2 separate regions of the Homo sapiens genome follow, and region 2 is linked to region 1. The links are contacts of gene promoters, found by promoter capture Hi-C in human tissues and cell types (Jung and others, 2019). All regions are on one chromosome and are shown on one strand. Each heading gives the region's core, a stretch centred on a gene start or on the middle of the fragment in contact. The rest is flanking DNA. Distances are from core to core; before and after follow the strand shown.

What was found. Contacts are between HindIII fragments. The study calls those that stand out against the background at their distance.
Region 2: a contact is called between the fragment with the promoter of PRPF3 here and the fragment with the promoter of ECM1 in region 1, in 1 of the 25 tissues and cell types used here (liver).

The regions. Positions count from the first base shown.
Region 1 is chr1:150,503,948-150,509,465 of GRCh38, reverse strand. ECM1 (extracellular matrix protein 1) reads right to left here and starts at 1,357. Exons shown (of 10, transcript NM_004425.4): 1 at 1,187-1,357. The coding sequence starts at 1,256. It overlaps TARS2 (threonyl-tRNA synthetase 2, mitochondrial), which reads right to left. Exons shown (of 18, transcript NM_025150.5): 14 at 5,031-5,131; 15 at 4,733-4,834; 16 at 4,488-4,560; 17 at 3,761-3,875; 18 at 1,864-2,550. The coding sequence ends at 2,402. The HindIII fragment of the contact is 11,585 bases long and covers 1-5,518 here.
Region 2 is chr1:150,318,041-150,323,558 of GRCh38, reverse strand. PRPF3 (pre-mRNA processing factor 3) reads right to left here and starts at 2,026. Exons shown (of 16, transcript NM_004698.4): 1 at 1,967-2,026. RefSeq lists enhancers at 1,928-1,977, 2,168-2,217, 2,347-2,912. The HindIII fragment of the contact is 24,557 bases long and covers 1-5,518 here.

The DNA.
Region 1 (5,518 bases), core at 108-2,607:
GGGAGGCTGTGGAGATCAAGAGTGTAGGACAGACAAGCAAGACACGAGATGCCCCTCTGTATTCACCTGCCCCGTGTCCCCTAATCCTCTCCCAGCCCCAACACACCTAGACATGACCAGCTGGGTTCTGAGAAAGCCTGTGGCGGTCTGATAGCTCCACCTCTACTGGCTCAGAGGTTGGGCCTAAAGGGAGTATGGCATACGGGATTGGGGAGGGAGGCCCTCATTTCCTCTGCCAGTCTTTCCCTCAGGGCTGTGGGTTGTCCTCCCCAGTCTCTGCTGGGATGCGTCTCTAGCTTTCAGAGGAAAAAGTCTGGACCTTGAGCTGGTTGGAGCCTACCCAATCCACCTCCTCCACCCACCCTCCTACTCCAGGCCCTTGAAACATCTTTAGGCCTTTGGTTAAGGAGGCTTCCTGAAGGTTGAGTGCTTCCCCTTCAGCCAGTCTCAGCTCCGCCTTAGTTTAGGTCTCAATTTAGGGCCTGGGGGACTGGGACAGGCACAGGGAAGGGTCACTTGTAGGTGATCTGCAGACACAAAAGACCAGGAGCTGGGAAGAATGATGGCATGGGGCTTCACAGAGAAGTGGACAGATTTGCTGACATCCTCAGCAGCTTCCTGCAGGAGTGCCCTGGGTGGTTTTTTTCCTTTTCTTTTCCTTTTTTTCTTAGTTTCCACCCATAGCATTGAGGGGTTCCTGTTTTGTTCAGGCATCAAAGCAGATAAAGAATGTGTTTGTGCTGGATGGAGGGTGGGTCTGTGGATGGACACCCCTCAACTCCTCTAATCAGACAGGGAGTCAGTCGAGGCTTGCTGGGCCAGCAATCCGGTTTTGAGCAGCCTGGGGGCCCCTTTTCCCTCCCTTGCCTCTCCCACCAGCCACCTCCCTACATCCTCATCAGCAGGAGACCCTCACTCTGTGAACCCACCCCCCACTCAGTTGTCTATTTGACTGGGATTCTGTGTTTCTTGGCAGCAGTTTCTAGGAACCCCTCTCCTTCTGTGCCCCTGCTCTCTGCCTCCTTGGTTAAAGGCTCCACTGGCCTAGGCCCACTTTGGGCCTGCTCAGAAAAGGAAAGCCAAACGGAGAATCACTCTGCTAGTGATGAGCCGTCTGGGATGCCTGGACCCAGACCCCTGCCATGCAAGCCCAGACCCCCTCCTAAGTGCTGATCCCCCAACTCACCTCCCTCAGAGGCAGCAGAAGCAACAGCCAAATAGGTCAAGACCAAGGCTGCTCTGGCTGTGGTCCCCATCCTGGGGCAACTGACCACTGGACACTCAGAGGTGGGTCCTCTCAGGCAAGTCTGGATGTGAAGGGCCGGCCACTGAAGCTTGTCTGGTGGCTGTTACGGTTGTGAGCTTCAGGACCAGCTCTTCTTTTATAATTGTCTGGTGTGATCTCCCGCCCTCCTCAGCTTCCTGCCATGACTCAGTCCCAGCTGCTCCTCCTCTGGAAGCCACTCCTCCCAAAGTCACCCTGAAGCCTCCTCAGAGGATTGAGAAGAATGGGACTGATTAGAGGAGAACATTCTTATGACCTTCAAGAGAAACTGATTCAGAGAATCCAGGAGCAAGAGGTGTTTGAGCCCCTAGTTTGTGCCTCAGTTTCTCCATCTACAGGCTGCCTTCTGTGGAGAGGGGATCTGCCAACTCATGAACTGGGGTTGGGGAAACAGGGCACAAAGGAGTTTACAGCGGGGAGCAGGAAACCTATCCAAGGGATCTCCCCTACCAGTGTGAGGTCTGGACTGTCCCTTTTCAATTTCCCTAACTCTCTGGGACAAAAAAGAGGGAGACAAAGTGGAACATCCTTTTATCCCACCTCTCCAGAGTCAGAGATGAAGACATATGACCAGCAGCTTCCAGTTTGTATTTATTTATTTATTTATTTATTTAGAGACAGAGTCTCGCTCTGTCGCCTAGGGGGGTGCAGTGGCGCAATCTCAGCTCACTGCAACCTCTACCTCCCGGGTTCAAGCGATTCTCCTGCCTCAGCCTCCTGAGTAGCTGGGATTACAGGCGTGTGCCACCATGCCCGGCTAATTTTTTGTATTTTTAGTAGAGACAGGGTTTCACCGTGTTAGCCAGGGTGGTCTTGATCTCCTGACCTCATGATCCGTCCGCCTCAGCCTCCCAGAGTGCTGGGATTACAGGCATGAGCCACTGCGCCTGGCCCAATTTATTTTTTTTTGTAGTTTCATTCTCCTCACATCCAAACAGCTACAGCTTCCCTCCTTTTGTGGGGTCCCCAAACCAAGTCTCTTTTCAGGAGAGCAGACATGTGCCTCCACACAGTTCTGAAGTTCTGGGGGCTCCACATTGTCAGCTGGGTTGGGGTCTCCCATGTGAGGGAGGCTGATGGCACTCGCAGGTTTTTGCCTCATCTATGTACAAAGGCTCAGAAAATTTCTTCGGCATTTGGGACCCTCGTGTTCTGTAGCTCCACCAGTCGCTGCACAGCCTCAGGCAAGTCCCACTCCCCAAGGCGACGATTATCTCGAGTCCGAATGTTCACTGTTCTCTTACTTTGCTCTTTCTGGCCAACCACTGCAGGTAGAGGAAGTTTGGGAACCTCAGGGCAAATTCACCCACATGGAACAGTTTCTTTTGCTCTGCAGAAACTTGAGAGACCTAAATCTTTAGGAAGGGTGGGAGCAGAGCCCAGATATGGTTCACAGAAAGGAAGTATTCAGCTGTGTCTGCTAATACTAAATGACCAGTCCTGCTCATCCTGAGGAGACAAGGAAGTGCTTCAGTCCCCGCAGGCCTTATCGCTTCTGGTCAAGAGCCCCAGGGTCAGAGACATAAGAGTCAAGCAGAGAAAGACAAACACTGAGAACCCCACAGAGAGAAACTGTGTGTGTGTGTGTGTGTGTGTGTGTGTGTGTCAGAGACATTAGAGTCAAGCAGAGAAAGACAAACAATGAGAACCCCACAGAGAGAAACTGTGTGTGTGTGTGTGTGTGTGTGTGTGTGCGCGCGCGTGTCTGAAGGGGGTATTAGAGCAAGTGGAAGGTGGCAGGAGTGGTGTGGCCTTCACACTGCCCCGCCTCCCCCCAACCACTCTGACCCTTAGAACAGTTTCCTCTCATCAGTCCCACTCTGGCTCTTGGTGTCTGTTAGGGCTGGATTCACAGAGTGAGGGGCCTCTGCTGAGGAGGATGTATGCAGGGGCTGACTGGGCGGTAAGGGAGGGAAAGGGGCCATGTACAAGTCCCTGGGATTGCAGCACAGCTTGCTCTGGGTGCTTGTAGGGAGAGTGGGGTGTGCAAAACTCAAGAATCAGGTAATCTGGCTGAGGAGTTTCTGCTCCTCACCTTTGAGATAGAGCCCTGAACCCTGGAAAATGAAAAAGGGAGCATGGCAGTGCCAGAATTTTCTCCCTAAGGCCTTTCTCCTCATCCCTTAGGGCTGATTCCATCTAGGTCTAAAATAAACAAGGGTAATTAACGCTGTATTAACCCTCCCGTCCCTTTCTCTCTGATGCTCCCTTGGTTAATTAACCTAACAGACACCAACAGCTAGAGTGGAGTTAAAAAGAGGAAAACTATTTTGAGTGTCAGAAGTGGTTATGGGGAGGGCAGGGCAATGTGAAGGAACACAGGGCCCAAATGAGTCAGGTGTCCTGAATCCTGGCTCCTACCTGCTCAGGTAATGAGCCCCAATTAACCCAAATATGCATTACCAGACTTGGTAAACTTAACAGCAAGAATGCAGACGGCAGGTGGGAGAACATTGGCTCTGAGGTTCAGCTTACCAAACTGAAAATTGTAGTGGGCAAGCTGGGCCCGGCGGATTCTCCGGCTGAGGGTCAGTCCAGAGTCTGCATCCAGGTCACTGACCAGTCCTGCAGCCCGCAGGCTCTGCTGTGCCTGCAACAGAGGTTTGGTGACAGGAAGTTAATTTACTGGAAAGTTAAGGAGCTAGAACAGTCTGATGCTCTTTTCCCTCAATGCCCCCATCTGTTCCTCCTTTCCCTGCCTCGGGGCTCTCCACTTCTTACCAGCAACCTCTCCTCATTTCATCTCCACATTGAGGCCTCCTCCCCATTCATCCCCAACCCCACAATCTTTCTGCCTCCTACTGGAGATGACCCCCCAGTTATTCCGTGGACTTTGCCTTCTAGCCACTGCTCTACCCAACCAGCTGTTTGACTCTGGTACCATCCATATCCTCAATTCTCTCTAGAAAGGAAAAATAAAACTGTGTACTCAATCCCAGTTTTGTGCCAAGTGCTCTTTTGGTGGCTTTCAACATTTGTTAATTTGTTTAATTTTCATACATCTCTACAAGGTAGGCATTAGTCACATTTTTTAGATACAGGATTTCCAGCATCTAGGACAGCAGCCACTCGAGCCCAGTCTTGTGGCTGTGAGGGCTGTGCTCCTTCCTCTACCACCCCTGCAGCCTCTTCCTGCCCACTGCAGGGCACCAGACTCTCTACTGGACCTGCTTCTGCCCCCTCCCTTACCTCAACTCCTTACCTCTTTGGCGTATTCCTCTTGCTCACTCCCCACAGGGATGACCACCACCTGGAACGGGGACAGCCACAGTGGCCTGGTAGGGAAAGAACAGGTGATGGCAAATTAGTCACTCTGGCTCTGGCCAGAAGTGTGCTTGTATGGAGCAGACTTGAGAAGGAAAGAGGCTGGCATATGAAGGGGGACAGGATCTGGAGCATAACTATCCGGTTTGGGGCCAGAACAGAAATCCAGGTCAGAGGTCTCACCATTTCCCCCCGCAGCTTTCTGCCAGCACTCCCAACAGTCTTTCCACAGAACCGAGCACTGCTCGGTGAATGAGGACTGGACGCTCCAGGGCACCCGCCTGCCTTGAAAGGAAAAAGGGGGGGGTGGATGGAATGGTGGAAGTATCACGAATTGTGTACCCAAGATCACCTTCCAGTTTTTAAGAAATATTCAGCTCTGGCAGGAGAGGGTGTGGAGGGTTTAGTTTTTAGGGCCAAAGGCAGAAGGACTTATTCCATGCACTGTCAAGGGAAAAGAGGATAGGGCAAGGTTTTATACCCCTTATACTGGAGGTCAAATCTCAGGGGCAGTTGGAAGTCAAGCTGAATTGTCCCACACTGATGTGGCCGGCCCAGGGCATCGTGGAGGTGCACGTCAATCTACAGGAAACAGATGGGAAGGCACGAGATAAGCCAGAAGCACTATCCAGAACCACTATCCTCCATTACCTGTGCCATCCCACCCTTTAACCTACCCTCATCCCGGGCTACTACCTTCATCATGTCACCTAGCTCTATCATACGCTACCCCTCCAGTTCACTCTACTCAACTCACTCTGGCAGTAGTTCTCAGCAGCTCTCTCCATCTAATAATGGTGTTATAATATTACCTGATGTCCACACCCTGGCCTCTCAATTCCTTGAGCTCCTCATCTCAGAGATCTTCACCACCACCCATCTATGGCTACACCCTTTATCCTGTCATCTCCCCCAATGGCTGTACCTCTGAAACTGTCCATCAGACACCCTACTCTGATTACTGTCTCT
Region 2 (5,518 bases), core at 777-3,276, 190 kb after region 1:
GGTTCACTTGATTCTCCTGCCTCAGCCTCCCAAGTAGCTGGGACTACAGGCATGCACCACCACGCCTGGCCAATTTCGTAGTTTTAATAAAGACACGGTTTCACCATATCGGCCAGGTAATGCCTTACCTCAAGTGATCTGCCCACCTTGACCTCCGAAAGTTCTGGGATTACAGGCGTGACCCACTGCACCTGTCTCTACTAAAAATACAAAAATTAGCCAGGTGAGGTGGTGGGCACCTGTAATCCCAGCTACTTATGAGGCAGAGGCAGGAAAATCACTTGAACCCAGGAGGCGGAGGTTGCGGTGAGCCAAAATCATGTGCACTCCAGCCTGAGCGACAGAGTGAAACTGTGTCTCCAAAAAAAAAAAAAAAAAAAAAAAAGCCAGGTGCGGTGGCTCACGCCTGTAATCCCAACACTTTGGGAGGCCAAGGCGGGTGGATTATCTGACGTCAGGAGTTCGAGACCAGCCTGGCCAACATGGTGAAACCGCATCCCTATTAAAAATACAAATATTAGCTGGGCGTGGTGACCTGCACCTGTAATCCCAGCTACTCTGGAGGCTGAGACAGGAGAATCCCTTGAACATGGAAGGCGGAGGTTGCAGTGAGCCGAGATCGCACCACTGCACTCCAGCCTGGGCGACAGAGCAAGACTCCGTCCCGGGGAAAAAAAAAAAAGGTGTCTAAATGGGAGTCAATAAATTGACTGACCTCAATTTCCAAGCTCAGCTATTCCCAGCAGTGCCACTTATCAAAGATCTGGGAATCATCTTTCAAGATGTTTTAAGACATCTTTTCTCCAAAAAATCCAGTCTGATTAACTTCTACATTCTTGGTAAGTTTAGCCTCTATACTAGAGTCTATAAGACTTGATGCCAAATAGACTCACTTTTGGTATATCCAAAGGAAGCTAGTAGATTGAAGTGATGAAACTAAGACTGAAAGATTTTCTGCCTCAGTGACAAGTTACGTGAGTAATTCTATGGTGGTTCTATTACCCCACAATGAGTAGACATACAGCGTACCAATTTCTACATATTACACATGTATTGCACAAAAGCGGCATATCCAGATGCCATAGAAAGTGAAAACAAGAGTTCACACAGAAACAGTTGGGACACTGAGCCCCACCATTTACAAGCCCTTGGGCAAGTTAAGTAATTCTTTGGAGCCACAGTTTACCATCTTACAAAATGAGTACTGCCATATTTACATCCTAATTCATTCAATAAATATTTATTGAGTAACTACTAAGTGTCAAGCAATGTACTAGGTGCGGTGGATACATAAAACAGTGAGCAAAACTAACAAGAGTCCTCACCTTAACGGGTCTTATATTCCACTAGAATTGAATGATAGGCTAGAAAGTATAAGCAATTTGAAAGCCCAAAGCAATAAATGAGGTGCCACTGTTACCTCCATAAGATGACGTGCAAACTAAACAGCCAATGGATAAAAAAGTTTCAAACGGTAATTAGCCTTGTCACTAATCAAATGCTCAACAATAACTGCGAGGTGCGGGGGTAGTGGGGGTGCGGAAGGAAAGCGAGGTACAATGATCTCTCCTCTCAATGAGCAGGCAGCAGAATCCAAATCCAGTCTTCAGAAGGAATTCCTTACTCCGTGCTCTTGTTTGCTACAACCTGAGTTTCCCTCTGCAGCCCCCCACTCCCCCGCTAATCTTCATTTTTACTCTCTCCGTCACTCCAACCAGTCTCTTACTCTACCTTGTTCTACCTAAACTCCTCACCCCAGAGCTGGTCTCCCAACCCGGTCTCCTTCCCGCCCCCGCCCTTTTCCTCTCAACAATCTCATTCCAACCTCTTCTCCCACCAAACCAGGTACTCCTTTCACACTCCTTCCCGCTGAACCCTCCCGCTTCGGTCCTCCCCTTGGACTGAGTCCCCGGCCACAGTGGCGCGGACTGGAATTACCCTCTGTGGGCCCGGGGCCACTACTCACCTCACAAACTTCAGCCCCTGAGACGGAGCCCGAACGTTACACCGGAACCGGAAACCTTCTGACCGCCCTACGGCGTGCCGTCGCTACCGCCACCGCCGCCGCCACGCCGCTGTCTCCCAACACGTGACCAAGGAGGGCCGGGCCGCCAATTCGCGCAGCCGTATTTGCCACTTTCTTGGAGGCTGAACGCATGCGTCGCAGAACCGAAAAGTTTCCCTGAGCAATTTCCTTGCTTTCTATTTCCCAGGCTAAACCTATTAGCTAGATTTCTGCCAAGGTTTTTTTTTTAGCTTTTTTTTTGAGACGGAGTCTCGCTCTGTCGCCCAGGTTGGAGTGCAGTGACGCGATCTCGGCTCACTGCGAGCTCCGCCTCCCGGGTTCACGCCATTCTCCTGCCTCAGCCTCCCGAGTAGCTGGGACTACAGGCGCCCGCCACCACGCCCGGCTGATTTTTTGTATTTTTAGTAGAGCCGGGGTTTCACCGTGTTAGCCAGGATGGTCTCGATCTCCTGGCCTCGTGATCCGCCCGCCTCAGCCTTCCAAAGTGCTGGGATTACAGGCGTGAGCCACCGCGCCCGGCCGATTTCTGCCAAGTTAATGTCTTTAACTTCCTGAAGCGGAAATTGGGCTACTTGCTGTTTTCCTCATATGGAGAATAAGTGCGCAAAAGTAAACTTAGGCTAGAATGAAGAGCGAGGCTTCTGCGTTTGTGTTCAAACACAGCCTTTCTGGTAGAAAGTAAACCCTTTCTCCCTAATTTAACAGTGGTGTCAGGCCGGGCGCCGTGGCTCACGCCTGTAATCCCAGCACTTTGGGCTCAATAAATGACAAGTGAGACCTACCAGTATTGTTTTCTCCATTCTATCAATAGGTCTATATATTAACTTCTCTCCAAAATGAGGCTCTAACCTACTGACCCTTTATTTTTTATTTTTATTTTTTATTTTTTGAGACGGAGTCTCGCTCTGTCGTCAGGCTGGAGTGCATTCGGCTCACTGAAACTTCCGCCTCCCGAGTAGATGGGACTACAGGCGCGCGACCACCACGTCCAGCTAACTTTTGTATTTTTAGTAGAGACGGGGTTTCACCATGTTGGCCAGGATGGTCTCCATCTCTTGACCGCGTGATCCGCCCACCTCGGCCTCCCAAAGTGCTGGGATTACAGGGTTGAACCACCGCGCCCGGCCCCTACTGACTCTTTAAATCGATGATTCATAACAACATGTGTGTGGACAAAGATAGTTTGGAAAAAGATTGTCCAGTATTATGACACAATTTCTTATATGAGAAATGGAAAAAATTCCATTATTTTTATATTATAAACTATCCAAACTAAAGTTCCAAAATGTCTTCTTGGTGGTAGGCTGACTAGAAGATGCAGTTGTTCTTCAGGGAGGTTATTCACATTCCCCAGATAGTAGGAGATTTTTGTATCTAAAGATAACAATGTACATACCAAGCCCCACCTTCCCTGATGGGGCAGCACGACATAACAGGATAAAGCCTGGCTCTGAAGGAACAAGTTGGGGGAGTTTGAACCTACTGCTCAACTTATTCACAAATCAGTTTCCCCACCTACAGCTTCTAACACCAATGTCTCACAAAATATTCACTCAAAAAGTCTGTTGAATGGGTTAATGAGTTTCAACATTGCAGGGTTGTTGTAAATTTATTTTGTTTTGGTGCTTCTAACAGTCTGCGTTCAATTCCCTATGGAGAAATGTGTTTCTAGAAACTGGTTTTAGGCCAGGTGTGGTGGCTTACGCCTGTAATCCCAACACTTTGGGAGGTCGAGGCGGGTGGATCACTTGAGGTCAGGAGTTTGAGACCAGTCTGCCGACATGGTGAAACCCCATCCCTACTAAAAAAAATGCAAAAATTAGCTGGGTGTGGTGGTGGGCACCTGTAATCCCAGCTACTCAGGAGGCCGAGGCAGGAGAATTGCTTGAACCCGGGAGGTGGAGGTTGCAGTGAGCCAAGATCGCGCCACTGCACTGCAGCCTGGGCGACAGAGGGAGACTCCATCTCGACAAAACAAAACTGATTTTATTTCCAATTTTTAGAATTGGATACATTTAAACTGTAGCTTTCCGGTTACTAGCTGTGTTTCCTTCAGGTAATTTTTTCTGAGATTGTTTCCTCAATTATAGAATAAGAATCTCTACTTCAAAAAGGTATCGTGAGGATTAAATGTAATGTGTAAGACACAGTGTGGTACTGGCGTAAGAACAGGCAGGTAAACCAACAAAAGAGAATAGAGGGTCGGGCGCGGTGGCTTACGCCTGTAATCCCAGCACTTTGGGAGGCCGAGGTGGGCAGATCACGAGGCCAAGAGATCGAGACCATGCTAGCCAACATGGTGAAACCCCGTCTCTACTAAAAATACAAAAATCAGCTGGGCGTGGTGGCACGCGCCTGTAGTCCCAGCTACTCCGGAGGCTGAGGCAGGAGAATCACTTGAACCCGGGAGGTGGAGGTTGCAGCCAGCCGAGATTGCACCACTGCGTTCCAGCCTGGTGTCAGAACGAGACTCTGTCTCAAAAAAAAAAAAAAAAAAAAGGAAGAATAGAGAGCCCAGAATAAACACTCACATATATGGTCAGCTGTATTTTTTTTCTTTTTCTTTTTTGAGATGGAGTTTCGCTCTCATTGGCCAGGCTGGAGTACAATGGCGCGATCTCGGCTCACCGCAACCTCCGCCTCCCAGGTTCAAGCAATTCTCCTGCCTCAGCCTCTGGAGTAGCTGGGATTACAGGCAAGCGCCACCACGCCAGGCTAATTTTGTATTTTTTTTCTTCTTTGTTTTGAGACGAGTCTCGCTCTGTTGCCCAGGCTGGAGTGCAGTGGCACAGTCTCAGCTCACTGAAACCTCCGCCTCCTGGGTTCAAGCAATTCTTCTGCCTCAGCCTCCTGAGTAGCTGGGACTACAGGTGTGTGCCACCACGCCCGGCTAATTTTTTGTGGTTTTAGTAGAGACGGGGTTTCACCGTGTTAGCCACGATGGTCTAGATCTCCTGACCTCGTGATCTGCCCGCCTCGGCCTCCCAAAGCGCTGGGATTACAGGCGTGAGCCACTGCACCCGGCCTCATTTTGTATTTTTAGTAGAGACGGGGTATCTCCATGTTAGTCAGGCTCGTCTCGAACTCTGGACCTCAGGCGATCTGCCTGCCTCGGCCTCCCAAAGTGCTGGGATTACAGGCATAAGCCACCGTGCTCGACATTTTTTTTTTTAGACGGAATCTCCCTCTGTTGCCCAGGCTGGAGTGCAGTGGCTCAATCTTGGCTCACTGCAACCTCCACCTCCTGGGTTCAACCAATTCTCCTGCCTCAGCCTCCCGAGTAACTGGGACTACAGGCGCATGCCACCATGCCCAGCTAATTTTTTTGTATTTTTATTAGGGGTTTCACCATATTGGCCAGGCTGGTCTCAAACTCTTGACCTCGTGATCTGCCCACCTCAGCCTCCCAAAATGCTGGGATTACAGGCATGAGCCCCTGCACCTGGCCATGGTCAGCTGATTTTTGACAAAGGTGCCAAGGCTATTCAATGT